Linked DNA regions of Homo sapiens: all the other regions are linked to region 5. The links are contacts of gene promoters, found by promoter capture Hi-C in blood cells and fetal thymus (Javierre and others, 2016). All regions are on one chromosome and are shown on one strand. The core of a region is centred on a gene start or on the middle of the fragment in contact, and the rest is flanking DNA. Distances in the headings are between cores, read along the strand shown. Region 1 has its middle 450 kb from the start of LINC02223. Region 2 has its middle 470 kb from the start of LINC02100. Region 3 has its middle 50 kb from the start of LINC02100. Region 4 has its middle 410 kb from the start of LINC02100. Region 5 holds the start of BASP1 (brain abundant membrane attached signal protein 1). Region 6 has its middle 440 kb from the start of LINC02100. Region 7 has its middle 430 kb from the start of LINC02100.

The links. Contacts are between HindIII fragments. The CHiCAGO score rates a contact against its expected background, and 5 or more counts as called.
Region 1: a contact is called between a fragment that was not itself captured here and the fragment with the promoter of BASP1 in region 5, in 2 of 17 cell types (erythroblasts and M2 macrophages). The highest score is 7.3, in erythroblasts.
Region 2: a contact is called between a fragment that was not itself captured here and the fragment with the promoter of BASP1 in region 5, in 11 of 17 cell types (M2 macrophages, M0 macrophages, naive B cells and 8 more). The highest score is 62.6, in M2 macrophages.
Region 3: a fragment that was not itself captured here is called in contact with the fragment with the promoter of BASP1 in region 5 in 1 of 17 cell types (fetal thymus); the score reaches 7.6 in fetal thymus.
Region 4: a fragment that was not itself captured here is called in contact with the fragment with the promoter of BASP1 in region 5 in 4 of 17 cell types (naive B cells, fetal thymus, monocytes and 1 more); the score reaches 7.0 in naive B cells.
Region 6: a fragment that was not itself captured here is called in contact with the fragment with the promoter of BASP1 in region 5 in 13 of 17 cell types (M2 macrophages, fetal thymus, M0 macrophages and 10 more); the score reaches 52.0 in M2 macrophages.
Region 7: a fragment that was not itself captured here is called in contact with the fragment with the promoter of BASP1 in region 5 in 15 of 17 cell types (monocytes, endothelial precursors, naive B cells and 12 more); the score reaches 33.3 in monocytes.

What each region holds. Positions count from the first base shown.
Region 1 is chr5:18,257,515-18,261,307 of GRCh38, reverse strand. No RefSeq gene overlaps it. Among named protein-coding and RNA genes, the nearest start is that of LINC02223, 450 kb to the right of the region's middle. The HindIII fragment of the contact is 3,826 bases long and covers 1-3,626 here.
Region 2 is chr5:18,277,167-18,281,111 of GRCh38, reverse strand. No RefSeq gene overlaps it. Among named protein-coding and RNA genes, the nearest start is that of LINC02100, 470 kb to the left of the region's middle. The HindIII fragment of the contact is 2,822 bases long and covers 136-2,957 here.
Region 3 is chr5:18,693,979-18,698,213 of GRCh38, reverse strand. No RefSeq gene overlaps it. Among named protein-coding and RNA genes, the nearest start is that of LINC02100, 50 kb to the left of the region's middle. The HindIII fragment of the contact is 6,270 bases long and covers 1-4,235 here.
Region 4 is chr5:18,337,035-18,341,285 of GRCh38, reverse strand. No RefSeq gene overlaps it. Among named protein-coding and RNA genes, the nearest start is that of LINC02100, 410 kb to the left of the region's middle. The HindIII fragment of the contact is 3,927 bases long and covers 1-3,260 here.
Region 5 is chr5:17,215,344-17,219,144 of GRCh38, reverse strand. It overlaps BASP1 (brain abundant membrane attached signal protein 1), which reads right to left and starts at 1,514. Exons shown (of 2, transcript NM_006317.5): 1 at 1,335-1,514. It overlaps BASP1-AS1 (BASP1 antisense RNA 1), which reads left to right and starts at 1,723. Exons shown (of 3, transcript NR_027253.1): 1 at 1,723-3,068. RefSeq lists an enhancer at 1-394 and silencers at 429-748, 1,239-1,718. The HindIII fragment of the contact is 5,505 bases long and covers 1-3,801 here.
Region 6 is chr5:18,299,229-18,303,373 of GRCh38, reverse strand. No RefSeq gene overlaps it. Among named protein-coding and RNA genes, the nearest start is that of LINC02100, 440 kb to the left of the region's middle. The HindIII fragment of the contact is 6,425 bases long and covers 1-4,145 here.
Region 7 is chr5:18,318,627-18,322,845 of GRCh38, reverse strand. No RefSeq gene overlaps it. Among named protein-coding and RNA genes, the nearest start is that of LINC02100, 430 kb to the left of the region's middle. The HindIII fragment of the contact is 5,269 bases long and covers 24-4,219 here.

The DNA of each region.
Region 1 (3,793 bases), core at 464-2,963, 1.0 Mb before region 5:
TGACAATTATGTGTCTTGGAGTTGCTCTTCTCAAGGAGTATCTTTGAAAACTGGCACAAGACAGGGATGCCCTCTCTCACCACTCCTATTCAACATAGTGTTGGAAGTTCTGGCCAGGGCAATTAGGCAGGAGAAGGAAATAAAGGGTTTTCAATTAGGAAAAGAGGAAGTCAAATTGTCCCTGTTTGCAGATGACATGATTGTATATCTAGAAAACCCCATTGTCTCAGCCCAAAATCTCCTTAAGCTGATAAGCAACTTCAGCAAAGTCTCAGGATACAAAATCAATGTACAAAAATCACAAGCATTCTTATACACCAATAACAGACAAACAGAGAGCCAAATCATGAGTGAACTCCCATTCACCATTGCTTCAAAGAGAATAATATACCTAGGAATCCACCTTACAAGGGACGTGAAGGACCTCTTCAAGGAGAACTACAAACCACTGCTCAATGAAATAAAAGAGGATACAAACAAATGGAAGAACATTCCATGCTCATGGGTAGGAAGAATCAATATTGTGAAAATGGCCATACTGCCCAAGGTAATTTATAGGTTCAATGCCATCCCCATCAAGCTACCAATGACTTTCTTCACAGAATTGGAAAAAACTACTTTAAAGTTCATATGGAACCAAAAAAGAGCCCACATCGCCAAGTCAATCCTAAGCCAAAAGAACAAAGCTGGAGGCATCACGCTACCTGACTTCAAACTATACTACAAGGCTACAGTAACCAAAACAGCATGGTACTGCTACCAAAACAGAGATATAGATCAATGGAACAGAACAGAGCCCTCAGAAATAACTCCGCGTATCTACAACTATCTGATCTTTGACAAACCTGAGAAAAACAAGCAATGGGGAAAGGATTCCCTATTTAATAAATGGTGCTGGGAAAACTGGCTAGCCATATGTAGAAAGCTGAAACTGGATCCCTTCCTTACACTTTATACAAAAATTAATTCAAGATGCATTAAAGACTTAAACATTAGACGTAAAAACATAAAAACCCTAGAAGAAAACCTAGCCATTACCATTCAGGACATAGGCACGGGCAAGGACTTCATGTCTAAAACACCAAAAGCAATGGCAACAAAAGACAAAATTGACAAATGGGACCTAATTAAACTAAAGAGCTTCTGCACAGCAAAAGAAACTACCATCAGAGTGAACAAGCAACCCACAAAATGGGAGAAAATTTTCACAACCTACTCATCTGACAAAGGGCTAATATCCAGAATCTACAATGAACTCAAACAAATTTACAAGAAAAAAACAACCCCATCAAAAAGTGGGCGAAGGACATGAACAGACACTTCTCAAAAGAAGACATTTATGCAGCCAAAAAACACATGAAAAAATGCTCACCATCACTGGCCATCAGAGAAATACAAATCAAAACCACAATGAGATATCATCTCACACCCATTAGAATGGCAATCATTAAAAAGTCAGGAAACAACAGGTGCTGGAGAGGATGTGGAGAAATAGGAACACTTTTACACTGTTGGTGGGACTGTAAACGAGTTCAACCATTGTAGAAGTCAGTGTGGCGATTCCTCAGGGATCTAGAACTAGAAATACCATTTGATCCAGCCATCCCATTACTGGGTATATACCCAAATGACTATAAATCATGCTGCTATAAAGACACATGCACACGTATGTTTATTGCGGCACTATTCACAATACCAAAAACTTGGAACCAACCGGAATGTCCAATAATGATAGACTGGATTAAGAAAATGTGGCACATATACACCATGGAATACTATGCAGCCATAAAAAATGATGAGTTCATGTCCTTTGTAGGGACATGGATGAAATTGGAAATCATCATTCTCAGTAAACTGTCACAAGAACAAAAAACCAAACACTGCATATTCTCACTCATAGGTGGCAATTGAACAATGAGAACACATGGACACAGGAAGGGGAACATCACACTCTGGGGACTGTTGTGGGGTGGGGGGAAGGGGGAGGGATAGCATTGGGAGATATACCTAATGCTAGATGACGAGTTAGTGGGTGCAGCACACCAGCATGGCAGATGTATACATATGTAACTAACCTGCACATTGTGGACATGTACCCTAAAACTTAAAGTATAATATAAATAAATAAATAAATAAAATTTTTAAATGCAAAAAAAAAAAAAAGATACTTGCTTCTCCAGCTAGTGGTTGTAACAATTACACACATTTATATTCATATCCATCCTTTTTTGGATGCTGTGATGTTGGCTTCTGTATTTCACTATTGACCAAATTACCAGTATTTACTTCAGAAAGTTGATATGAACTGAACGTAGATTTCTAATTTATTTTTTGGTAAAATCTAAATTTGTTTTTATCAATCAGGATTTACAATAGATTTTTTTCAAGTTTCTGTACCTTATTTTCAGACGTCTCTGCCAGATTATTTTTACCTCCACACCAACTCATTTTGGCTGGGATTCTCAGAGTGAATATACTCTGAATATCATACCTATGACTACCTCTATTTTCTGCATTTAATGCTTTATCTCTTTATTTTCCACCATGTTGAGAATTATGATATCATTTTTCAAATGTGTATTCTTCTTTGCACTTTTTTGTTTGTATTAGATATTTTTAATGTTGCTATTCTTTCTTCCCCACTGCTTTTTTTCTCAGATGAATGAAAGGACCCTTTAGAGGAAGCACAATTGTACTACAGTCCAAAAGATGTTATCCTAAACACCAGCATCAGCACCCTGGCCACACGGAACTATTCTGCTCACTGACCCAGTTCTCTTGGGTTATAATTTATTGGTGACCTTAATAGGACCAACCTTTATATTTTCATCACCCAACTCAATAAGGTATCTTAACCTACCACCACTTTTTTCCAAATTGAAGCCAAAGCACAGCATCTTTTATTTACTGGCTAACAATAGATGGTATGCTATTCCATAGACTCCTGCTATCAGAGTCTGCATTCACAGCAATTATCTTTACCAACAATTTCATTTTCTGCATTTTCCCTTGTGTAATGTGCTGGCAATTGTGTGTGGTTGGGTTCTCTATCCAAATGGCTTTCAAGCTGAACACAGACCTCAAATTCACTTAAGCATCTGGACAGCATGGGAATTATCCATTACTTAGGGGAATCTCACATGCTGCATTTCTATTAGTGAGATAGCATGTCCTTCCCAATCTTAGAAAAAAATGATTTAAAGTCGCTATGCATATGAGCTCAAAACAAACAGCATTTTGAATTCCACAAATATATTAATGTATCCTGAAATCTTTCAGCTTCTTCCAGTGTAGTCAGAGCAGTGAAAATTGAATTAAGATCTCTCTAATTGAGGTATATTTATTTCACTTAGATATCCATATGTCTCTTCCTTTTCCATTGTATTCTTTTTTTTTTTTTTTTTTGGCTGGCACAAAGGATATGTATATGTTATTGAGATTAAGAAGAAAAAAGTATTCTATAATGTTTATAATGCCCAAAATTATAGATGTCAAATGATCAGGCAAATAAACTGTTCTTTATGTAAAAATTACCAAATAAATTAACATGAAATATTCATATTTTACCTCCTCTAAGCCAAGGAATGAAAAAAAATAGGATGATAAAAATGTGTTAAAAATAAGCTTACATTTTCATGGTAAAAATATTGTCTGTTGAACAGATATTTTGGGGAAAAGCAGAGGTGGAAATATTAAAGACGCATTCATGCACTCTCCTCAGTATAAAAGAGACACATTTTTATTCTTACAAAATGGAAAGAACTTATATCTATATATGAAACCTCACTATTCT
Region 2 (3,945 bases), core at 297-2,796, 1.1 Mb before region 5:
CAGGTGGATGTAGTTTCTCCACATTCCGCCTGTCCATGCAGCTGACTTTCCGATTGTGTGTCCCCTCCCATTAATGAAGAAACATTTCTGATAAAGCCCTCAGGAGTTACCACTTTACATCTAGTTGTTCAAGCTTATGTAAGAGTATCTAAATCATCTCTGGCAAGGACTTTTGGCATGGGCATTACCAAGATTTGCTTAAACTAAATAATACTTCTCTCCTGGTTGTGGGATGGAGTTCTGCAGCACCTCATCTCATCACAGGTAGACAGAATCAGGGCACAGAAGAAGAGGAAGCAGCGTAGTTGGGTCAGAGACCACAGATGACAACTTTTTTATGTTCTGTTCTCCTACCACCGCTTTAATGAGTTCTTCCCTGACCATGCAAATGCATCCCATCCCGGTTCCCATCACACCTTCCATCATGCTTCTGCACATTTACTTACCTCTTTTACTCAAATAACATATTCTCTTTCAAGAATATTTTGTTTATTATATCTTTATCCCATTTCCTTTTAGAAAGTAAGCCCTTTCTGGAGCAAAAATACTGTCTGTCTGCTCATGACCATGTTCCCAGTACCTAGGAGCATTCTTCACACACACTAAAGGTAATTAAGAAATAATGGGACAGACATGGTGGCTCATGTCTGTAATCATAGCACTTAAGGAGGCCAAGGCAGGGGAATCTTTTGAAGCCAGGTGTTTGAGACCAGCCTAGGCAACATAGCAAGACCTCATTTCTGTGAAAAAAAGACAAAAACAAAAATCAACTGGGCATCATGGGGCATACCTGCTGCCCCAGCTACTCAGGAGGCCAGGGTGGGAGGATGGGCTTAAGTCTAGGATTTCAAAGTTGCAGTGAGTTATGATTGTGCCACTGTATGCCGGTCTGGGTGACAGAGTGAGACCTTGTCTGTAAAAAAATTTTTTTAATTAAATAAAAATTAGAAACTCATTCATTAAACACATACATACACCCATGTACACAAGCACACACACATGCAGAGAGAGAGAGGGCAGAAAGAATGAGAGAGAGAGAGAGAGAAACTGCTAATGAGGGAAAAATGTGGGCTTTTTCTAGCCCATGGCTTTCCCATTCAAGCACAGCTGATAAGATGCCCAAGAGAGCATTTATTAGTAATGGAAAATGGAGTAATCATAAATATTTGCAGAATAAATATAAGAAAAACTGGTGAACTTGTAAAAGAAACTATGACTATTAACATGTAATCTAATTTTAATTCTATAAATAAATTACATTATACGCTGAAGTAAAGGGGGATTTTCAGACTTCTTTTGAGCAATGTTTGAGGGTGGGAAATGCCCTGGAGGCCTGTATTAGGAAAGTGTTATTTCTCACTCATACAGGAAAAAAACAGTGGATTTTACAAATAATAAAGTTAAAGTGAACTGAAATATCAGGAAGAACAATTGTATATATGGCCCATTGGCTTTCTGCTGAAAAACATAACTAGGTAGTTTTCATTAGACACACCGAAGTTCAGTTAAAAAAAATCAAATGTTTTCATATTTTACATGATTTCTGTTTTACTAATACAAGAAACATTTTGTAAGCACAGTATGCAGAGGCAACAGAAAGGTGTTTTAAATGGTCTTTCATGATATTCTAGCCAATAATGAGAAATATGTGTTGCTTTTAAGGTGAATTGGGTGGATTGGTCATTCCTAGTTTAATGTTTAACTGTTTGATCAATGAAAACAGTGAAATAACCTGGAGAGGGGTTGCTTCTAGGATTTTGTCTCAGGCTATAATCTTGACTTTTTCTTCCTCAATATTTTAATAAAAGAAGATATAAAAATATTTATCATATTTAAGTTATATGTGATTTTTTTTACAGATAAAAATGATTATAAATAGAACTTCAGGATCTGGATAAATGAATAAAAATTTAATTAACCGAAAATAAGATTTAAGTAATAATCTTTATTCTAAAAATCAATTGCTTATGTGTAGGACTAGAGATGGTATGGGATGGCCTAGTACATGACGAACTGCCTTCTGCATTTCCTTAAATATTAAACTCATAGTAGTGAGGTGGCTAGAAAAAGAGAAGCCAATATGGTAAAACCCTATCTCTACCAAAAATACAAAAATCAGCCGGCTGTGGTGGTGGGCGCCTGTAGTGCCAGATACTTGGGAGGCTGAGGCAGGAGAATCGCTTGAACCTGGGAGATGGAGGTTGCAGTGAGCCAAGATCATGCCACTGCATTCCAGCCTGGGCTACAGAGCAAGACTCCATTTCAAAAAAAAAGAAAAGAGAAGCCATTGTGTATCCAATTATGAATAAAATCTATCTAAGAGTCAATGGTTTTTTCTATTCTGTTCAGGTCACAGTATATGGAATATTACAAAAAGAGCAAAGGTGTGCTAGATTACGTGACAGCCAAATAATTTTGTATAGAGCACAATTAATGTTTCTTTCACAGATGTTTCAGTTACACATCTGAAGGTGGTATTACACGTATATATCCCGGCCCACATGCTCTCTTTACAATATGAAATGCTCTCTCCCCCATCAAGGAATAGGATCTATGTTGCTTCCCACTGAAACTAAGTGAATCTTTGTAAATACCTTGACCAAGAGTTCAAGTGATGCTTTATAACTTCAGAGGCTACATCATAATATGTCTTCCATCTCTCTCTCTTTTTTTTTTTTTCTCTCTCTCTCTGGATATGTGCTTTGGGAATGTTAAACTGACACATAAGAAGAAACACTACCTTGAAGTCTTTCCGCTGGAGAGACCACCTGGGAAGCCTCCATAGAGATAAAGAAGATTTAGGGAGGTCCAGGGAGGTTCAGCTGGGTTATCCCCAGCTATTCAAGCCCTCCCAGGCCAGATATGTGATGGAAAATCTTACAAGATGATTCCACGCTAAACCATTTTCTGACTGCAGTTTCACAAGAGGCACTAAGCCAAATCTGCTCAGCCAAGCTTCTACCAAATTGATGTCTGATAGAAGAGAAGCAAACTGTGAGAGCTAATAGAGTAGGCAGAATAGTGTCTCCTCCAAAGGTATCTACATCCTCATTCCTGGAAGCTATGGCTATGTTAGGTTACAGAGCAAATGGAAATGAAGGCTGCAGATAGAATTAAGATTCCAGCTCCCCTTAACATGGGAAGATTATATGGATTATCTGAGTGAGTCCAATGTAGTCGCAAAGGCCCTTACAAGTGGAAAAGGGAAGTAGGCAAATAAAGATGTGACCACCCAAGAAAGACACAGTGTTGCTTACTTAGAAAATGGGAAAAGGGGCCACTAACCAAGGAATATAGTGACCTCTAGGAGCTGGAAAGGGCGAGGAAATGGATTCTGTCCAGAGCCTCCAGAAAGGAATGCAGCCTTTCTAATGTCTTAATATTAGCTCAATGAGACAAATGTCAGACTTCTACAGAATTGTAAGACAGATTGTAAATTTGTATTATTTAAGCCTCTAGGTTTGTGGTTATTTGTTACAGCAGCATTAACAACTAATACAGATTAAAATTATTATTTTTACTTTAAGGTATTACATTGCAGCTGGTTTGTTATACATCATTAGATAATAACTGGAACGGAAGAGCAGTTTTTGTCTGTCATTAGATAGTGAACTTTTTGAGCGGAGTCATATTTGTATCCTGTTGGCCTGGTGCTGAATTTAAAAGATATAATGCATATAATTAATGCTGAATGAATAAGTAAATATCAACAATGATCAAATTATTGTATTAGAGTTCTCCAGAGGGACAGAACTAATAAGATGTATATATACATGAAAGGGAGTTTATTGAAAAGAATTGGCTCACACGATCGCAAGGCGAAGTGCCATGATAGTCTGTCTGCAAGCTGAGGAAGAAAGCCAGTAGTGCCTCAGTCTGTGTCCAAAAGCTTCAAAAGCAGGGAAGCTGACAGTGCAGCCTTCAGGTTGTGGGCCCTGGCAACCA
Region 3 (4,235 bases), core at 578-3,077, 1.5 Mb before region 5:
GTCCCCCGGGCCCAGCTGTCTTTTCTTCTATATCTTTGTCTTGTGTCTATTTCTATGATCTCCCGTCTCTGCACACGAGGAGAAAAACCCACAGACCCTGTAGGGCTGGCCCCTACAAAATGCTGCATTTTGGCTACATGATATGGTTTGGCTGTGTCCCCGTCCAAATCTATCTTGAATTGTAGCTCCCATAATTCCCATGTGTTGTGGGAGGAACCTGGTGAGAGATAATTGAATCATGGGGACAATTTCCCCCATACTGTTCTCGTGGGAGTGAATAAGTCTCACGAGACCTGATGGTGTTATAATGGGAAACCCCTTTCGCTTGGTTGTCATTCTCTGTCTGCCACCATGATTTGAGGCCTCCCCAGCCACGTGGAACTGTGAGTCCATTAAACCTCTTTTTCTTTAATAATTACTCAGTCTTGGGTGTGTCTTTATCAGCAGCATGAGAACAGACTAATACACTACGTTAATGAGGAAGTGCTATAGTTTACTAGGGTTCAGTTTAGTTCAACAAGTTTCCTAAATATCCAAAAGGGGTTAAACATGGTTCTAAGCTATGGGTAAATACAAATTGCTATATTTTAAAATTGCAGGCTGGGCGTAATCCCAGCACTTTTGGAGGCCGAGGTGGGCGGATCACGAGGTCAGGAGATCGAGATCATCCTGGCTAACATGGTGAAAACCCATCTCTACAAAAATTACAAAAATATAAAAAATTAGTCGGGGCGTGATGGCGGGCGCCTGTAGTCCCAGCTACTCCGAAGGCTGAGGCAGGAGAATGGCGTGAACTCAGGAGGCGGAGCTTGCAGTGAGCCGAGATCGTGCCACTGCATTCCAGCCTGGGTGACAGAACAAGACTCCATCTTAAAAAAAAAAAAAAAAAAAAAAATTGCAATAAGCTGGCAAATATAATTGTAAATTAGTATAATAAAATGACTATTTGAAGTCTTCATAAATGAGGGAATATTTTAGCAATATTTAAGAATTATTTGAAATCAATTTCCTAGGGATGGAGATTAAAGAATGTATTCCATGAAGAAGAAACTGCATAGTGTAGAAAGGAGGTGGTTCACGCCTGTAATCACAGCACTTTGGGAGGCCGAGAAGGGTGGATCACGAGGTCAGCAGTTCAAGACCAGCCTGACCAACATAGTGAAACCCCGTCTCTACTAAAAATACAAAAATTAGCCGGGCGTGGTGGCATGTGCCTGTAATCCCAGCTACTAGGGAGGCTGAGGCAAGAGAATCGCTTGAACCTGGGAGGCAGAGGTTGCAGTGAACCGAGATAGCACCACTGCACTCTAGCCTGGGCGACAGAGCGAGACTCTGTCTCAAAAAAAAAAAAAAAAAAAAACCAGAAAGGAGGCATGGAATAATATACCTTTGAAGAAGAAAAAACAGTCTCTCTTAAGGCTGTATATTTCAAGGATTTAATCATTTTAGACAAAGATAATGCCAAATGACCAAATGACCATTATTTGCAGATGTTTTAATGGTCATAAATGTTTTCCTAGGATTTTGTAGAGTGAGAAAAATAAGTTCTTGTAGTGTGGAGCATGATACTTATGAAGACTATTGGGTATAATTGCCAAATAATACACTATTATATATTTCATCTATTTTTAACATAGTTTTATAATTTAAAAATACATCAAATGTTTGGATGTCTTCTAGGAGACAGACAGACTTGAAATTAATTCAATTTTATAAATGATTCCCCTAAGATTAATAATAATAAATGACATGTTTAAAGTATCTAAATTGCAATGTTATAGAAGCAGAACAAAGCCCTAATGTAATAGTAATCCTAGTGGGCTGTAGCAGCTGAAATGAAATGACTTTAAGCAGATTTGGATGGTTATTACCCACATGAAATCCCTTAAGTGACTTTTCCCCTACTCACCCTTTCTTTTAGCAACTTCCTCACACCCCGTGGCCTAGGACTCTAGACATGTTAAGATATGCTAAGGGAATCAAAGAGTAGAACATAGTCATAAATGGCAAATCATTTGACTTTACTACATAAAATGAAAAACTGAAGCACACTCTGTGAAATCTAACAAGTTATGCATTGTGTAAAGATAGGCATTATAAAAAAAACTTTTCCTCTTTGGAACATTTATAAAAGAAATGATATAAACATAAATGACGTCCATGCAATCAGTTTAAGAAAAATATTATAAAAATGTTCTTATTGTCTCACAACTTTGTTAGACTTTATAACTACCTCCATACTAATGAATGTCAATAGTCAGGTTATATTTCTGTTTTCATTCATTTTCTAGTATACTTCAGCCTATAAGGTACATTATAAGGTAAGTATTAGGGTCTTCTCTGTTGAAAGTATTTGTTGTGAAACTAAAATCAGATCCTTACCTAATTTATTTGGTTGCATGTTAATTCTTCCATAAATTATATAGTACAGGATAAATGTGTCAATACTGCTTTCATTAAATAATTTTAAAATTCATTTGCCAATGCAAAAAACAAAGATCTTTTTTAAAGAAAAAAAAGTTATGCAAAGAACAAAATCCATTTTCCAATAAAGATGTTAAGACCACAGTGAGGAAACAAAAAATATTAAAATTATTTGTCAATGAAAATCTGGTATTCACTATATTTTTCTGTTAATATGAATGTCTCAGCATCAGTTTTGTTGGCTCACAATATATTCATGCAATTTCACAGGATGTGGCCTACAAGTTAACTTTTATTTTTTACCAATGAAGAAAAGACAGAAATCTAATATTAAATAAAGAAATTCGTACTAATAAAACTGTGGTAATTCATTTTTAAAATATGTATTCATTTCTTTCTTGCACATTTTTCCTTTCTCTATAGTAATATTTCTTATTCATTTCTTAAAATTACTTTTGGTAAAAAAATTAAAGCAAGTATTATTCTCCATTACACTTATATTGTTGTTAGAATCTCAATGAATAGTTTCCTCTACTTTTCTATTGAATAATTTTATGTAAAATTCATACTGTTTGTGAACACATTTCTTTTAATTATATACCCAAATAATTTTTTCTTAAATATTACTGAGCTGAAATATTTAAATATTAGCTAAAATGTACTATTAGGGAATGATATCCTCAGTTAATGACAAGATATGAGCTATGTAGCCAATTTTATTTCAGGTAGAAATTATGGAAAACCTGCTCCTACTATATATTCTATTATGCCATGAAAATCTGTATCTCTGATATTCAAAATGCATCAGTAAAAAATCCAATAACAATGCAAAATTAGAATAGAATCAGTAAGGTTCTTAGAATGTGATCAAATTAAACTAGGGCCTAAAAGTTCAATATTGTCTCATATTCAAGAAGAATCACCTTAAGGTAAAAGCCAGGACCTCCACAGTTGAATAAAAGGACACAGATCAATGAGTTACATGATGACATTAAAAGACAATGATAAATCTATGTTCATTGCAACAATTGGGCCTATATGAAACCTAAAAGTGAATGTAAAATAATGTGTTTTGTTGAAAACATTATAATCAGATGTATTTGTTGTATTACTAACTGACCCAAAAGATTAGCAGACCCATTATGAAAACCAAGTAATGTTGGTGTTTCACCTCCATTGAATCTTTGAGTGCTTCTTGAGAACCCAGGTAGTGTGATTACATCTAATGTTACTACAAGTGAGGCACTGTAGCTCTTAGCTCTTGGGTCTGGCTGCCATAACTAAATACCATATACTGGGGGGCTTAAACAACAGAAACTAATTTTCTCACATTTCTGTAGCTAGAAGTCTAAGATCACCATACCAGCATAATTGGTTTCTGGTGAGATAATTTTTCCTTGCTTGAGGATGGCAGCCTTCTCTATGTCCTTACATAGTTGAGGAAGAGAGATAGAAAAAGCTCTCTTACGTCTATTCTTATAACCCTATACTGAGGACTCCACCCTCATAATTTTATCTAAACCTAGTTATCTCTTAAATTCCCCATCTCCAAATACCATGGCATTGTGGGGTTAGGGCTTAACCATATAAATTTGGGAGATGGGGACACAATTCAATCCATATAACTGATTATATTAAAATGAGCAACAGAAAAATCATTAGCACTATTTGATATAACATCATGATCTGTTGCCCCTATACTATTGTCTTTTCAAATAAATGTTTACATTGACAGTATTCAATCAAAGATAACTAAGCAGGTCTGAAAATGCACAATATGCCAAAAAATGAAGAAAAGGGGCATAAAAATC
Region 4 (4,251 bases), core at 48-2,547, 1.1 Mb before region 5:
TTTCTGTAGAAAAGAATGAAGTGACTGTAATTAAATTTTATGAGGAATATATGAAAATATTTTAGGCTTAACATGCAAAGTGTAATGCCCAAGTCTTCCTATCCACTTCTCCAACAAATATTTATTACAACATACTATTTCATAAGAACTAAATTAGTCCCTGAAATATATACCAATTTTACAAATGATTCAAATCTTGAAATAATTGCCTGTGAAATTATAATTTAGCTTTAGCTTGAATTAATTTTATAATAAGCATAAGTATTTCTGCATCTTTAATAATTCATTGTATGACAATTAATTCTAATATATATTATGGCTATGGATAAAATTTGATAGCATTTTCTATGTTTATATCTATGTAGATATAAACTTTAATAAAATTGTACATATATGTAATATAATGTATTTGGACGTATGACATTTTCCCAGTTCTTATGAAATATTTTGTAACCCTATTAGATAAATAGACAAACCAGTTTCTTAAATGTTAATAAGAATGACATAGTATATATATATATATATATTTTTTTTTTTTTTTTTCTGAGACTGAGTCTCGCTCTGTCGCCCAGGCTGGAGGGCAGTGGCGTGATCTCGGTTCACTGCAAGCTCCGCCTCCCTGGTTCACGCCATTCTCCTGCCTCAGCCTCCCGAGTAGCTGGGACTACAGGCGCCCGCTACCACGCCCGGCTAATTTTTTGTATTTTTAGTAGAGACGGGGTTTCACCGTGTTAGCCAGGATGGTGTCCGTCTCCTGACCTCGTGATCCGCCCACCTCAGGCTTCCAAAGTGCTGGGCTAACTATAAAAATTTTAAAAAGAAGTTAAATAGCCATTGTTGACTAAATTGATAGACTTTTCTTGCAAGCAGATGCTAATTATGTAAGTTCTAATACTGTAAAGAACATATTTTTTCAGTAATTTATAACGCAGCCAGGATGTTACTTCAGTAGCTAATGTCTTTGAATACTATAAAAACAGAAATAAAAGAGGATGCACTCTTTATGGGGCTTCAGTTAATCTGAACACACCTGGAGACAACAGATTCAGCTTGCTAAAAAGCCTTTGTTCGCAGGCTCGTGTCTTCTGCTGGAGTCCCTGCCTCCTTGCAGAGCTTGCGCTAATGACTCTCCACCTCTGACATCTGTGGTGGCCTGAGTGCACTTCCAGAGATACACACCAAAATCAGGTAACTTGACCCTATATCCTTTTAACACTACTGACACAATAAATTCTCTGGTGCTACAATTTATCTGGACAAGAAAATAAATACGTGGTATATAAACTCATACTCCTTGAGAACAAGAAGCAAGAAAATGCTACATAAACTTCCTCTTTCTGTTTTCTGCCCTATGGTTCAAAGTGGATGAACACCTTTGTACTTAAAAGATTATGGACATGCGATGACCACAGGTGTCATTTCCCAAGCCTCTGTCTTCTGCCAAGAACCTGAGAACTCTAAACAGATGCTGCCCACAACTAATTATTATACATTAATTTCTTTCTTTCTTTCTTTCTTTTTTTTTTTTTTGAGATGGAGTCTCGCTCTGTTGCCAGGCTGGAGTGCAGTGGCACAATCTTGGCTCACTGCAACCTCTGCCTCCCAGGTTCAAGCGATTCTCCTGCCTCAGCTTCCTGAGTAGCTGGGACTACAGGCGCACACCACCACGCCCAGATAATTTTTGTATTTTTAGTAGAGACGAGGTTTCACCATGTTGGCCAGGATGATCTCGATCTCTTGACCTCATGATCCACCTGCCTCAGCCTCCTAAAGTGTTGGGATTACAGGCGTGAGCCACTACACCCAGCTATACATTAATTTCTGTTGGAGAGTGCACATAATATAAATTTCTGCTTTATTGAAACACAACTGGAAACATAAGAATATACAAAGTAAAATGAAAGAAAACACACCTCGGAAAACAAAAGAATCACTGATTATGGTGGATATTCTCTCTTGGTCTCTAAAATACTAGTAAAATTACTGAAAATATGTATTTATTCAATTTAATAAATATACATACAGGAATATATTTAATGAGCAAGTTGAATTTATTACACTGATTCTTAAAAAATTAAAACTCAAACTTTGGAAGTGGTTATTTCAAATATAAAAGTGATTTAGATGTACAAATTCAAATGTTTTTGTTAGCTTCAAGAACATGAAGCCTGGACAACATGGTGAAACTCTGACTCTACAAAAAATACAAAAATGAGTTGGATGTGGTGGTGCATCCCTGTGGTCCCAGCTACTCAGGAGGCTGAGGTGGGAGGGTCACTTCGAGGAAGGTAGAGCTGTGATCATGCCACGACACTCTGCACTCCAGCCTGTGTGACAGAGCAAGACCCTGTCTCAAAAAATAAAAATAAAAATAAAAATAAAATAAAAATCTGAAACAATTTCTGCAGCATCACTGTTGTAATATTGTGGTACTTTATGGATGTATATAGCCCCTGGTAATTTCAGAAGTGACAGGAATCCTACAACTTTTAAAAGGTTTCTTTGGATGTTTGTTTTAGAGAAAAAAAGAATCAGTGCCACCATCAAGTACTACCATTATGCTTCCATAAGTGACTGCAATCACTAATGGGCATGACTCCAGAAACATAACATTTCTCCTAAGTACATGTGGACCCTCCCCAGGGATTTCAAATCTGCTCAGGACTTAGAAAGTGGCATTAATGAAATGTCCCATTTAGCCAGAAAGTAAATACAGTGTTTATAAAGATCATAGGATATAATCAGTATATATCATAGGGTCGTAGGATAGATCAGTGTACAATACAGTGTGTATAGGAGAAGTCGTTTACATGAGTCCCCCCAAAGCCCACTTTTGCCATTTATAAATTCTATAATCTTAGGTATCTGATATTTAGTTTTCTTATCAGTTAAGTAGGCATAATTATGTTGCCTATTTTAACATTATGTGGTAATGAATCTGAAAATGTATAAAGATGTGTGTCGATTTTTAAACAATTCCTTTTACCCTCAGATATGTATCTGTACTATATATCTACACAAATCTGTATCGGTACGGACACTATGAAAAGGGATGCTCCCAAACTATCCCTTATACAGTGCTTGTACTCAAATTTTGTGAATGAAGTAGAAAGAGTTGATTTCCTGCACTCTGGCTATTCTGCTCCAGATGAGGAAGTATCTATTTCTCATGCTCAGAGGGAAGGTCTGTCTCTTTTGAAGTTAAAGCACAAGTTAGCACTGTGTTAACAGCTGCACAGCAAGAAGACCTAAGTGAAGCTTGGTGACCACTGCCCCATTGCCAGGACCGGGACAGAGCAGTTTCAGGGAGACAGAGGAGTCTCCCACAAGAGAGAAATTCTTATGCATGCCCATTTATTTTCTCTTTCATTTGTATTTTGCCTCCTGAAATAAACTTGTAAAATGTTTGCCTGCCATTTTTGGAGAGTATCCAGGTTAGAGAAGATACAGAAAATATTTTCTCTTCAACATCAGCAATATAATAATATACACGTAAGTGAAAATCAGCTAAAAGCTAGAGAAACACTTCATTTCACTTCTTGTCAGAAAGATAATCATTTATAAATTGTTTAATGTTTCTGAACTAGGGGAAAAACATAAGAGCTTTTTACCAACTTCTCTTACAGTACTAGAATGCATTATGTCCTAACTCGATCCCTGACTTTCTTTGACCTTTCTTTGACACTTAGACAATGGGAGATAAAAACAAAACAATAATGGATGCTGTTGCTTCATTATCTGGGAAACTAACTTTGATTAGTTATTTATACACATGCACACAAATAAATACATGCAGGGTGAAATTCATTTCAAGTAGATAATGCATGTGTAAGACTGCATATTTCAAAATATATTTGGAGCAAAAATAATTTCCATGAAGTGACATACAATAGAATTTCAAAATTACACAATTTTTAAAGTAGCATAACTATCAACTTAATATTTTATTTTAAATTATGTCAAGCATCACTATATATTTTGGGTTCATTTTAACAAATATTCAAAATTTAACCACTTTTTGATAAAATATAATATTACAGCCAAATTCTGGTATATATTCTAATAATCTAATACAAAGATAAAGGAGTATAAGATTCCATGATAGGTAAAAGCGAAGTAAAATTGTCCTCTCTATGATCAAGAGAAAGTTGAATGACTTATGAAAGTATTGCATTAGGAGTAATTGCTGGCAAAATTGTGCACTCAGCGAGATTAGCATAATTATTATAATAGACTGCATAATTGCTACCA
Region 5 (3,801 bases), core at 265-2,764:
GGGTCTGTTGGCCCGGGCTGTAATCCCGGGAGGTGGGGGTGGGGGGTCGGTCCACAACCCTATAGCAGAAGGCCATTTCGACGCTAGTGTTGGGTTTTAGCCCGCCCCACAGTGCGAGTGGCCGCGGGGGAGACAGAGGTGTTGTCAACCTGTACAAGGTCCTAAAAAATGCACCCATGTGTGCTGTGCTAATTTCAGCAGAGTGAGAATTACATGGGCAAGGGCTGTCCACCGAGTTCGTTTCAAGGCGGAAATGTCTCTGGGGACGCAGATAAGGAGCCTGGCCAAGCGTTCGATGAATATTCATGAAAAGAATGCGGTTTGCAGCCGCGCATTGTGCGTGCGATCGGATCCAGGATTCCGCAATTTTTATTTTTCTGGAAATGGAGGGGGGACGGGGGCGGGGGGAGCAGGAACCGGGCGCCGGGTTTCAGCTTTAGCGCTTTGGGCAAAAGCTGCTCAACCCCAACCCTACGCTCCCAGCGGGGCTGAGCCCAGTTAGGGCCGCGCGCTGTCAGGTTCAAGCCCACACCCCCCGGGCCCGGGCCGGGGCCGGGACCCAGGGCGGAGGCGCCTGGCGCATTCTTGGAACCAAAGGCTCGAAAAAACAAACTGCTCCGAGGCAGCCCACGGGTTCGTAGGAAGGCAATTCCGCCACTGACGAGGCTGGGGCTCCGATCTGCTCGGGAGGTGCTTCTGAGTGCACGTCGCCGTGTGAACCTCGTATTCCTTGGCCCCAGAACCAAGATCCAGGAGTCCCATGGGTCGAGAAAACCCGTTTGCCAAAGCAAAAAGCCACCCACTTCCTTCTGATCGGGCCAGATTCCCCATCTTCTTTCTCCCCGGACTCCCGCCCCACCCCACCCCCACCCTCCATCTTTGGCTGCTGCGCCCCTCGCCCCGAGCGCTTTCTCCCAGGCTGGTAAGGGCTCCGATGACGGAAGCGCTCCCTTCAGCCCACAGAACCGTCTCCCCGGGACTCAACGCACTGAGGGGGTTTCGCATTCGGCAATTCCTCCCGTCACCCGCAGCTCCTCTCCCCGACAGCCCCCTCCCCCCAGCTCCGTTTACCAACCTCGCCGCCCCCCTCACCCCTCCACCATGCGAGCGGCTGAAGCCTCCCACTTCTGGGCCCCCCATCACCCGGGATCCCCGAAGTGCGACGGAGCCCTCACAGAGGGACCCCAGGCCCTTGCCGTCCAATCCGGGCCCACATCCCTGCTGCCCGCTGCATGAAGGGAGAGCCCGGGGGCTGCGGGGCGGGGCGCGGCGCGGTGGGGGACGGAGGCCCCCGGGTCCGCGGCGGCGCGGGGCCACCGGGCGCGCCTCCTTACCGGCTCTGGGTGCCTATGCAGCCCCTGAGTTAGCGCGGTGCCGCCGAGAGGCCGGGGTCGCTGGCGTCGTCTGGCTGGTGCCTGGCCGCTGGCGGAGGCTCTCTCCCGGCTCGACGGCGGAGCCCGGAGCGAGGAGCCAGTTGGAGCGCTGCCGCCGCCGTCGTCGCCGCTGCCGCTACTGCCGCCGCCGCCGCCGCTGCAGCCTCTGCATTTCTCGCGCTCGCTCCCCCTCCCCTTCCTGCCCAGTGCCCTCCCCCCGCGCGTCCGCCCGCCCAGCCTCCCTCCTCCCGCGCTCCCCGCCCGCCTCTCTCCCCTCCCTCCAGCCCGGCGCCCCGCCCGTCTCCCCTCCACCCCCTCCAGCTCCATCTCCCCACCCCCTGCACTCCCTCTGCTCCCCTCCCCTCCTCCGGCGCAGACCCTCCCCTCTCCCCTCCAGCCTGGACACGCCCGCCTCCCCTTGACTCCCCCCAGCTCTGGGCCCCCACCTCCCCTCCCCTCCAGCACAGTCACCCCCATTTCTCTCCTATCCGCCATCCTGGTTCCTCCCTTCCCCCCACCTCCCAACTCTGTGCCCCGCCAACGTTTCCTAAATGCCCTCTATTCAGATCCCCCCTCCGCCTCCCCTCTCCTCTCCTCCATTCCTGCGTCCCCCTTCCCCCGCCGCGCCGCCTGGGCTGTCCGTGGACTTCTCCCACTCTCTCACTCTCTCACTCACTCTCTCTCTCTCTCTCTCTCTCTCACTCTCTCTCTCTCTCTCCCCCTCATTTATTTGGAACCGTTGGATAAGAAGTGCTCGGGCTCTCGCTCAGACTTAGGGAGCTGCCTCGAGGTGATGAATGACACCCCCTGGCACCAGCTACCCTTCTCAGACCCCAGTCCAGCCCGCTCCCGACGTCGACTACGATTCCGCTACCTCGGCTGGCAGCGAGGTTGGGGTGAGCCCCAGCTGCAGGCGCGTCTGGGCTGCGCCGCTGCAAACGAGTTGCGCACCTTGGGCGGCTCCGCACCTGCACCCGCACCCGCGGGGCTCAGCCCCGAAGGCTGCAGCTTCGGGGGAGGCGCGGTCGCCGAGGTCCAGCTGGTGGGGCGAGAGACGTCGCCCCTCGGAGGATGCTCTCGGAACTTGGGAGAGGAAGGAGGGAAGAGAAGAGGGGAAAGGGGCCGTCGATGTTTTTGATGTCTGTGCTTTAATGGAGGCCACCAATATTGAGAAGACGGGGTTGGCCGAGGCAGCCCGCACGCTGCTGCTTGCGAGCGCTCGAGTCAAAGCTAGGGCCAACCGCGGCTTGTCCGGGTGCCCTAAGGGGGCGGACACTTGGTTTAGCACCGGGACACAGAATAGCCACCGGGGTAGGAAGATGCGTTCACTTTGCTTACCTGTTGGCAAGAGGGACATACAAAAATAACGTAACGTGACATCGTTGACAACGGTAGCTCTTTGATTACACAAAAGCCAATTTTACCTTCCCGCAAAAGCCAGTTGACGCCTTTGGAACTTTTATTTGCGGCATTTTGGCGCCCTCTGGCTGTGTTTGGATCGCTTTCATGCTCGCCTGCGTCCCAGCCAAGAAAAAATCGATGGAGCTGCAGGTTGTCCTCAGGATGGTTCTGCCCTCAGGACCTGGGCGTGAATTCAGGGACAGGGTGGCCCTCCAGAACCGGAGTGACAAACTGTAACCATACTTAGGGAGGCAGACGTCAAAGGCAAGTACATCTGTATTCAACTGGGTAAAGGTAAGTGCATTTTCACTTAACAGGAAAATTAACTTATCGTAACTTTAACGTACATATTTGAATTAAGCAAAGTGGCAATATTTACTCAACTGCACTAGCGATTTTGCAGTGGAAACACTTGACGACCCTACTGTACACATTTACAGGTCATAGGAGGCAGCACCAAATTAGATTAATGCATGCCAGCTGGAAATGTTCAAATTTAAACCAAAGGTAAGAAAAAAGCGGGAACTGTTTGTTTTTTCCTGTTTCTCTTTCTGCCATTTAAAGTGAAATAAAAAGTTAGTGTAGTAAAATACCAGGGAAGCAAATTACAAATGAGGTTGCTTCTAAAGCATTTTATTCTTTTGAATATTTATTTCCCTCACACCAGTACACCATCTATAAAGCTAAATGGAGGATGCAGGTTTTCCCACCTCCTTTTGGGGCCAGATATTTCTTTGTTGTGGAAGGCTGTCCTATGCACTGTAGGATGTCTGGCATTCATTGCTGGCCTCTACTAGCAGCCAGTACCACCCTCCACACACACCACCAGCACCAGCACCAGTTGTGACAACCAAAAATGTCCCCAGATATCGCCAAATGTCTCCTGGGAGGCAAAATCACTCCAGGCTGAAAACCACTGAGCTACATTTTCTTTCAACCTCTATGAGCAAGTCTCTAGGTTTTTACCCTATCGAATTAGATGAATATTTGCAATGTTCTGCTCAAGACATTTCCTGAGTTTGTTAGA
Region 6 (4,145 bases), core at 1,045-3,544, 1.1 Mb before region 5:
AATTGCTAGGGATTCTCTCTCTCTCTCGTGTGTGTGTGTATGTGTGTGTGTGTGTGTGTGTGTGTATGTGTGTGGGTGATGGGTCATTTGCCAATTTAGTGTTTTTTTTTTAATCATATAATAGTAATAGTTATACTAAAGGGGAAATACATGGGCACATGCTTAAAAGAAAATGAAAAACCCATATACACATCGGCTCAGATTTTTGCTTTTCTACCTTTTTGTAGAAAAAAATACAGTGCCACATTCCCAATAAGAAAGGCTACCAACAAAGAAAAAAAGACTTGGCATCTAGCATTATCCAATATCAGAATTTGTTTTGCTGGATAAAAAAATTAGGATTATAGTGGTGGGTAAGCTACTGAGTTTTGCAGTGTTCTGAGAATTTCTAGGCATTATCAGATTAATTCCTAAGAAAGACCTTATGGAATATGCATTGTCATCTCTATTTTATAAATAAAGCAGGAAGACTAAATATGTCCAATGTCACAAAATTAGTCGCAGAACTAGAATTCAATAAGCCCATGCTCTTTCTCTGGTTAAACCAAGGGTCTTTCAATGCCATGAACAATGCTTGCAAACCAAATGTAGTATTTGGTCCCACAAATTACTGTATCTGCTTACTGTCAGATATAATAAACATCTTATCATAACTCTAGATACTACTTTAACCTATTTGGTTTGTGCTTTATTGACAGCATCAACTCTAAAACATAATCTCTTCTTGAAAATATATGAAATTTACCTACAGCCATCTGACCTTCGACAAAGTAGACAAAAATAAGCAATAGGAAAAGGACTCCCTATTCAAAAAATGGTGCAAGGATAGTTGGCTAGCCATATGCAGAAGAATCAAACTGGATACCTTCCTCTCATCATATGCAAAAATTAACTCAAAATTTAAAAGATTTAAATGTAAAACCTCAAGCTATAAGAATCCTAGAAGAAAACCTAGGAAACACCATTCTGAACATTGACCTCAGAAAAGAATTTATGACTAAGTCCTCAAAAGCAATTGCAACAAAAACAAAAATTGGTAGGTGGGACCTAATGACACTAAATAGTTTTTGCACAGCCAGTGAAACTATCAACAGAGTAAACAGATAACCTATGGAATGGGAGAATATATTCCCAAACCATACATTTGACAAAGGTCTAATATCCATAATCTATAAGGAATTTAACAAGCAAAAAAAAAAAAAAAAAAAAAAAAAACCATTTAAAAATGGGTAAAAGACATGAACAGTCATTTCTCAAAAGAAGTCACAAAAGTGGCCTACAAACATGAAAAAAATGCTTATGTCACTAATCATCAGAGAAATGCAAATGAAAACCACAATGAGATACCATCTCACAGCAGTAAGAATGGCTACAATTAAAACGTCAAAACACAACAGGTGCTGGCGAGGCTGCTGAGAAAGGGGAACACTTACACATTGTTGGTGGGAATCCAAATTAATTCAGCCACTGTGGGAAGCAGTTTGGAGATTTCTCAAAAAACTTAAACTAGAACTACCATTTGACCTAGCAATCGCATTACTGGGTTTATATACAAAAGAAAGCAAATCATTCTCCCGAAAAGACACATGCAGTCATATGTTCATTGCAACACAATTCCACAATAGCAAAGGCATGAAATCATCCTAGGTGTCCATAAATGGTGAAATGTATAAAGAAAATGTGGTACATATACACCATGGAATACCACGCAGTTCTAAGAGAATGAATTCATGTCCTTTGCAACAACATAGATGCAGCTGGAGGCTATTATTCTAAGTGAATTAGCACAGGAAAAAAAAAAAAAAAAACAAATACCACATGTTCTCACTTGTAAGTGGGAGCTAAATATTGGGTACTCAGGGACATAAAGATGGTAACAACAGAAATGGGAAATACTAGAAAGGGGAGGGAGTAAGGGAAGAAAAGGTTGAAAAAGTGTTGAGTACTATGCTCACTACCTGGGTGATGGGATCATTTGATCACCCCAAACTTCAGTATCATGCAGCACACCCAGGTAACAAACCTGCACATGCACTCCCTGAATCTAAAGTAAAAGCTGAAAAAGAAGAAAATAGGTGTGAAACAGATTATAATTTCTTATGGCAACAGACAATCTCATTAAACATCAGATCCAATAATTCATTTTTAAAATTCTAATTAGGTATTAATCTACACACTTTAGAAAGAGGCCAGGAAATTAAATTAGTTTTAAAATTTAACAACGAAATAATTATAAATAGTATGTGTACCCTATTTTGCAAACAAAATAAAATTATCATTTTATTCAAATGGTAATACCACTTGTGATTGTCAAATAAATGTTTCTTCTCAGTGACATTACCATTTGAATCAAAATGATTATTCAGTGAATTCGCAATCTTCACTCAGTCTCCATTTTTAGTTTGTTGGATTAAAAAAATGCTTCAAGGCTTTAAATCCTTCCAATGTAGTAGACATCAATGTTTTTTCAGTACAATAAGATTTTTCATTATAATTGTTACTTCACTATTTCACCTGTTTAAAATTAATATCTAATATGAGTATATATATATAAATAATTATTTATGCTAGGACTTAACTACTTCTGAAGTACTTTTTTTCCTACAATAAAATAAAACTGCTTCCCATGGAAGAACTTGTCCTGTGATTCTCTATGAATGACAGAATGAACATACATGTACTAGCATCAGGAAAAACTCAAATTGCCAGTGAATTAACTCGTTGAACTCATTGTTCTGTGTTGCTTTACTCTGACAGACAGTGTATGTTTCTACCTTAAACTATGTCATGTGGTCAGAACAAGACATGAAAATAAAGATCTAGTCTAAGGCCCAGCCTATAAAACATCAGAAAATAAAACAATATGGACGAATGTAATTCAAAAGTTTCTATAAAATTTGTTTCATCTCTGTAATTCTCTTTCATTTTATTTGCTTTTTAGAAATTTCAAGTTAAGGAAATTCAGTTGTACTTGTTTCTGGCATGTGGGCATTCCTCTAAAGATGCGATAAACAGAAAAACAAAGTCTGCCATAACCATTCAAAGCAGGAAAGGGCAACCTCGAAAAACATACTTATAATGATATTGATGCATATTTTAATAGAAAAATAAAACTTATTTTAGGGAAATCTCTGTTCTGTTCTAAAAAATTCCCTCTTTGTGAACCCTTGAATATTTAAAAACATTTAAGAAATTGACCCCTCCATTTATATTTTAATAAGAACCTTATGGCTTATATTTATATCATCTGTTCATTAAATAGGTCATCACTTTTAAGAAGCCAAATATTTCAGTTACTCCTGGCTGCAGAGCAGTCATTTTAAGTCTATAAAAGAAAATACAGGAAAAAAAAAAAGAATTAGTATCTCTGGGTGTCAAGATTAACTTAAAGTTTCTCCCTAGACATTATGTCAACAGATCTTCTTCCCTTCCTTCAATAGAAGCAGTAAGAAGAATTTCATGAGCCTATAAATTTATTACCCCTAGAGATGTAAAAAATGGATTAAAACTCTTCAAATTCCTTCACACCCTTCCCTATTGTTGGAGATACAGACAAAGCAGTGATGACTTATAATGACAATGTGTTTATTAAGAAGAGAGAGAATGGTGGTATAAAAGTTAGATATGGAAAGTGTGGAGCAGGTATAGCTTAAGCTCTATGGGCATAATTATCTTAATTGAGCAATGCACTAGAAAATGATTATCTAATTCACTGGTTCTCAGCCATGGTTACACATTAAAATCACCTGGAATGATTTTTTTTAAGAAAACACCCAAGCCTGAGCCCAAGTCTGAGCACAAGTACTGAGGCTTCTGACTAATTTATTGTCAGTTGAAGCCTGATATGGTTTATCTCTGTGTCCCCACCCAAATGTCATGTTGAATTGTAATTCCCAATGTTGGGGGAGAAACCTGGTTGGAGGTGATGTGATCATGAGGATGGATTTCCCCCTTGGCTGTTCTCATGATAATGAGAGCATTCTCAGGAAATCTATTGTTTTAAAGTGTGTGGCACTTCCCCTTTTGCTCACCCTTTCTTCCTCCTGCTCCACTATGTGAAGATTGTGCCTGCTTCTCATTCACCTTCAGCCATGACTGTAAGTTTGCTGAGGCCTCCCCAGCCATCCCTCCTGTACAGTCTATGG
Region 7 (4,219 bases), core at 1,409-3,908, 1.1 Mb before region 5:
GTATTTCTGGGGAAAAAAAAGCTTCTTTCCCGATTCTGATGCAGGTCAGGTCTGAGAAGCCTTGCTCTAGTCTAATTATTTCACTTTGCAAATGAGGATATATAAATGGAAAAATGCTAAACTGGCAAGACTGAGTACCTACAGCAATTCGGTGGCAGAAATGGAACCCATGACTTCTGATTCCTAGTCCAGTATTCCCTCATACACCCTCCTCAGTCAATAATATAACTTTCTTAAAAGAAGGGGAAGTGGGCTTGGATTAAAAAAAAAAAGAATAAGAGAGGATAAAAACAAGGAAAACCCTACTCTATTCATTATAATTTATTGGTGAAGTGAACCTTATTAAGAATATATTTTACTCCATATCTTGCTTGGTAGTATGTAGTCGTTAAATCCCATTTCTCCTATATTTTTCCTATGCTAATTATAAATAATTTATTTATTATTGTCATTATTATTTGAGACAGAGTCTTGCTCTATTGCTTAGGCTGGAGTGCAGTGGCATGATCTCAGCTCACTGCAGCGTCTGCCTCCCAAGTTCAAGTGATTCTCATGCCTCAGCCTCCTGGGTAGCTGGGATTACAGGCACGCACCACCATGCCAGGACAATTTTTGTATTTTTTAGTAAAGACGGGGCTTTGCCATGTTGGCTAGGCTGGTCTGGAACTCCTGACCTCAAGTGATCTGCCCACCTCGACCTCCCAAAGTGCTGGGATTACAGGCATGAGTCACCACACCCAGCCCTATAAATCATTTATCTATATACATCACATTCTTTATCTTGGCTCCGGATCAATATCTTTAGAGTTTTCCTTTGTGGGTGGTTTTGAGGATCTGGTGATCTGGTGATAAACTACCCATGTCAGTTTCTAACATCATTCTTGACCTTATAGACTGACTTGTCTCCTGATTTCCTTCATTTCCCTGCCTTCTTTTTCTGCTTACTGATCTGTGCAATTGGAAGTGCTGAGAAGGAGATTGACAAAGAAATGTGCATGTGAAATGCAGGCATGGGGAGGCAGGAGCAGTGCTGAATGATGCACTCTAAAGAGCATGGATCATGCAAGTCTGCAGAGTAAATGCAAAGATATTACATCAACTGACTATACAATACCAACCATACCTCAGAGCAGGCCAAGGCATGTATTACAGCCTGTTTCACGAATTCTTAAGGGATCCTGGTTTATGCATAACCAGGGGTCTGCACAGCCTGGACAATGTCAGAAGGTTGGTTAATTTCATGTGTCAACTTAACCAGGCCATGGGGTGCCCAGGTATTTGGTCAAACGTTGTCCTGGGGTGCCTGTGAGAACGTTTCTGTACGAGAAGAACATTTGAATCAGTACAATGAGTAAAGCAGATTGCCCTCCCTCCTGTGGGTGGGCCTCCCCCAGTCAAACTGAATATGTAAAGAGAACAAAAAGCTAAGTAAGTGGAAATTCTTCCTGCCTGACTACTTAGCTGGTACATCATTTTTTTTCCTGCCTTCAAACTCAAACCGAAACATAGCCTCTTCTTGCATCTTGAAACTGCCAGTTTTCAGGCTGGAACTACAGCAGAGGCTCTCCTGGGTCTCCAGCTTGCCTCCATCATCCCATGAGCCAACCCTTTACATATATATATATGTCAATGACTGACTAATAGAATCAGGAAGACAAGCCATTACACGCTCTGCATTTATATATAGGAGATTTTCAGCATATGTCTCAAAACTTGAAATATTCAATTATTAAAATGCTAAATTCTTTCTCTGTATATTTATAGCACTTAAAAATTGTTTTAGGCTGGGCATGGTGGCTCACACCTGTAATCCCAGCACTTTGGGAAGCCGAGGCGTGTGGATCACCTGAGGTCAGGAGTTTAAGACCAGCCTGGCCAACATAGCAAAACCCCGTCTCTACTAAGAATACAAAAATTAGCTGGGCGTGGTGGCATGTTCCTGTAATCCCAGCTACCTGGGAGGCTGAGGCAGGAGAATTGCTTGAACCTGGGAGGTGGAAGCTGCAGTGAGCTGAGATTGCACCACGGCACTCCAGCCCGGGCAACAGAGTGAGACTCTGTCCCCCCAAAAAATTGTTTAAAATCACTTATTAAATTTTTCTTAATATTCATACGCTTCTTCTGCACAGAAGTATATTTCTGGGAGCAGGCACCAAGTTTTACCTATTCCTTAAATAAGCCTGCCATGTTTACACAGACATTGCTTATAGAAGATTCTTGGTTATTATTGTTTGCATGATTATTGAATAACTCTTGCCTTCAAGCTGGTTTTGTGATTTGTACTCTAATTATTGTTTATAAAACTCATAGTCAAAAAACTAGTGTGCTTCCTCGGGCTGTGGATACAAAACATATTTTATTGATCTGATTGATTCTTTCTTCTCCAACTGTTGCATTAGGAATTCCAGCATCCCCCTTATAGCAAAGCATCAGTAAAGATTATATCTACTCACTTGTGTAAAAGAATACTTATTCCTCATGTATTCTGTATCCCAGGGATAGGTAGTTCAAGAAAAATAGGTCAAATACATTACACTAATAGGAGACCTGGGAACCTGAGTTTCTTCTCAGAGTCAGTATTTGACTTCCATTCTGAAAGTCACCCCATGTTTCAACACGGCTGCTGAAGCTCCTATCCTCATGTTTATTTCTCAGGCCAAAAGAATAAATTTCAAAAATCTTCTATTAAATAAATGAATTCCTTTTATAGCATTTCCAGATGTCTCATAAATCTTATCTCTCTAGATTTTATTTTCCAGAATTTAGTGATGTGGCCACACTTAGCTTCAAGGAGGATAAGGAATATAATCTTTTATTCTGGATAGCAGCAGGACTCCACAAATCAAAGTTCTGCTATTAGAGAAGAAAACAAGACTTCATAGTAGTCTGTGACTTACCAGTCCTCAACTATGTCTGTGAATCTGTCAAACACATGCTTCACTTGCTTTCACAGAACATTCCATAATCATCCATGATGCCTTCCTCTCTTGTTTTGAATTCCTCCTTGTCAAAATATAATGTCCTGGAAATCACTCCTGGGCACCATCATTTCCAATGCAATGTGCCATCAGAATGTGAACCTCAGTGTCTAGCCTAAGACTGTTCTAAACAGATATTCCCAAAGCCCCCATTTTCAAAGTTCCAGAGCAGATCTTAATTTTAGGCTGCATTGGGACGAGTGGTTTCGGTCCTAACTTAATATAGCTGTTTTAATCTGGACACAAAGGCAACCTGTTTATGCTCAAGCTCTTGGAGATTTCTTATGCAGCGTTTCTTTCCTTTCTGACTTTGACACTTTTCTTTTAAAAGGCTCCACTAGAGCTCAAGAAATTGAATACTGCACAGAGGTCAGGTTCCTATCTCACTCTTCTCCTCAAACCTCCTTTCTCCAAAACAGAGCACAACTCAAGCATGCCAACGCTGAGAGATGGGAGTAGGAGCTGACTCTTCTTCAGGTTCTGGAGAGTAGCCCACTGTGAGCCTTTCCTGATTATTTTCTCTGGGTTACAAAAGGGCAAGTGATTCCTTCTGCACCAAATTTGCTTCTCCTCAAAATGCTCTCTTACAGGTCATAAAAGCAAACTTTGAAAGCAAAGATATTCCACTACTAAGAGTTCAGACATCATATTGGTAGGAGATTGTCATATGATTAGACTAGATTTTAGAGGCACATATAAAAAATACATTCTGTTTATAAAAACACTTAGGTAGTTACAGAAACATAAACATAAATGTGAAAGCCTGAGGTTATGTTCGTTTTTCTATGTTCAACTTTTAAATGATTAAATTTAATCTCATGAAATATTTATCATATATTAATTGTTATATTCCTTAATCATATTAATATAAACATGTTAGTGTGGATAGAATAACCCGCTTATTAATTATTTCAGAGAAACCTATCAATTTGCTTGGTTCCTTAACAGCCAAATTTTAAACACAAACTTATATCAACAAAAGGCTCGCAAAGGGGAATAGAGATAGCAAGAAAAATATTTCGGAAGCAGTTTAACTTCTATGCTTAAGGGAAAACATGTTGGGGTTGGATCAGCTGTTCAAATAGTGTCTCAAACCCTCACATTCTCTGTGATTCTGGAAAAGTTAATTAACCCCTTTGTGTTTCTCTCAGTCTAAGAAGTGGAAATAATAACACTATGTAGCTCTTGAATTATTATACATCAATATCTTAAAACAGCACCTGGTGCACATTAAGTGTTGT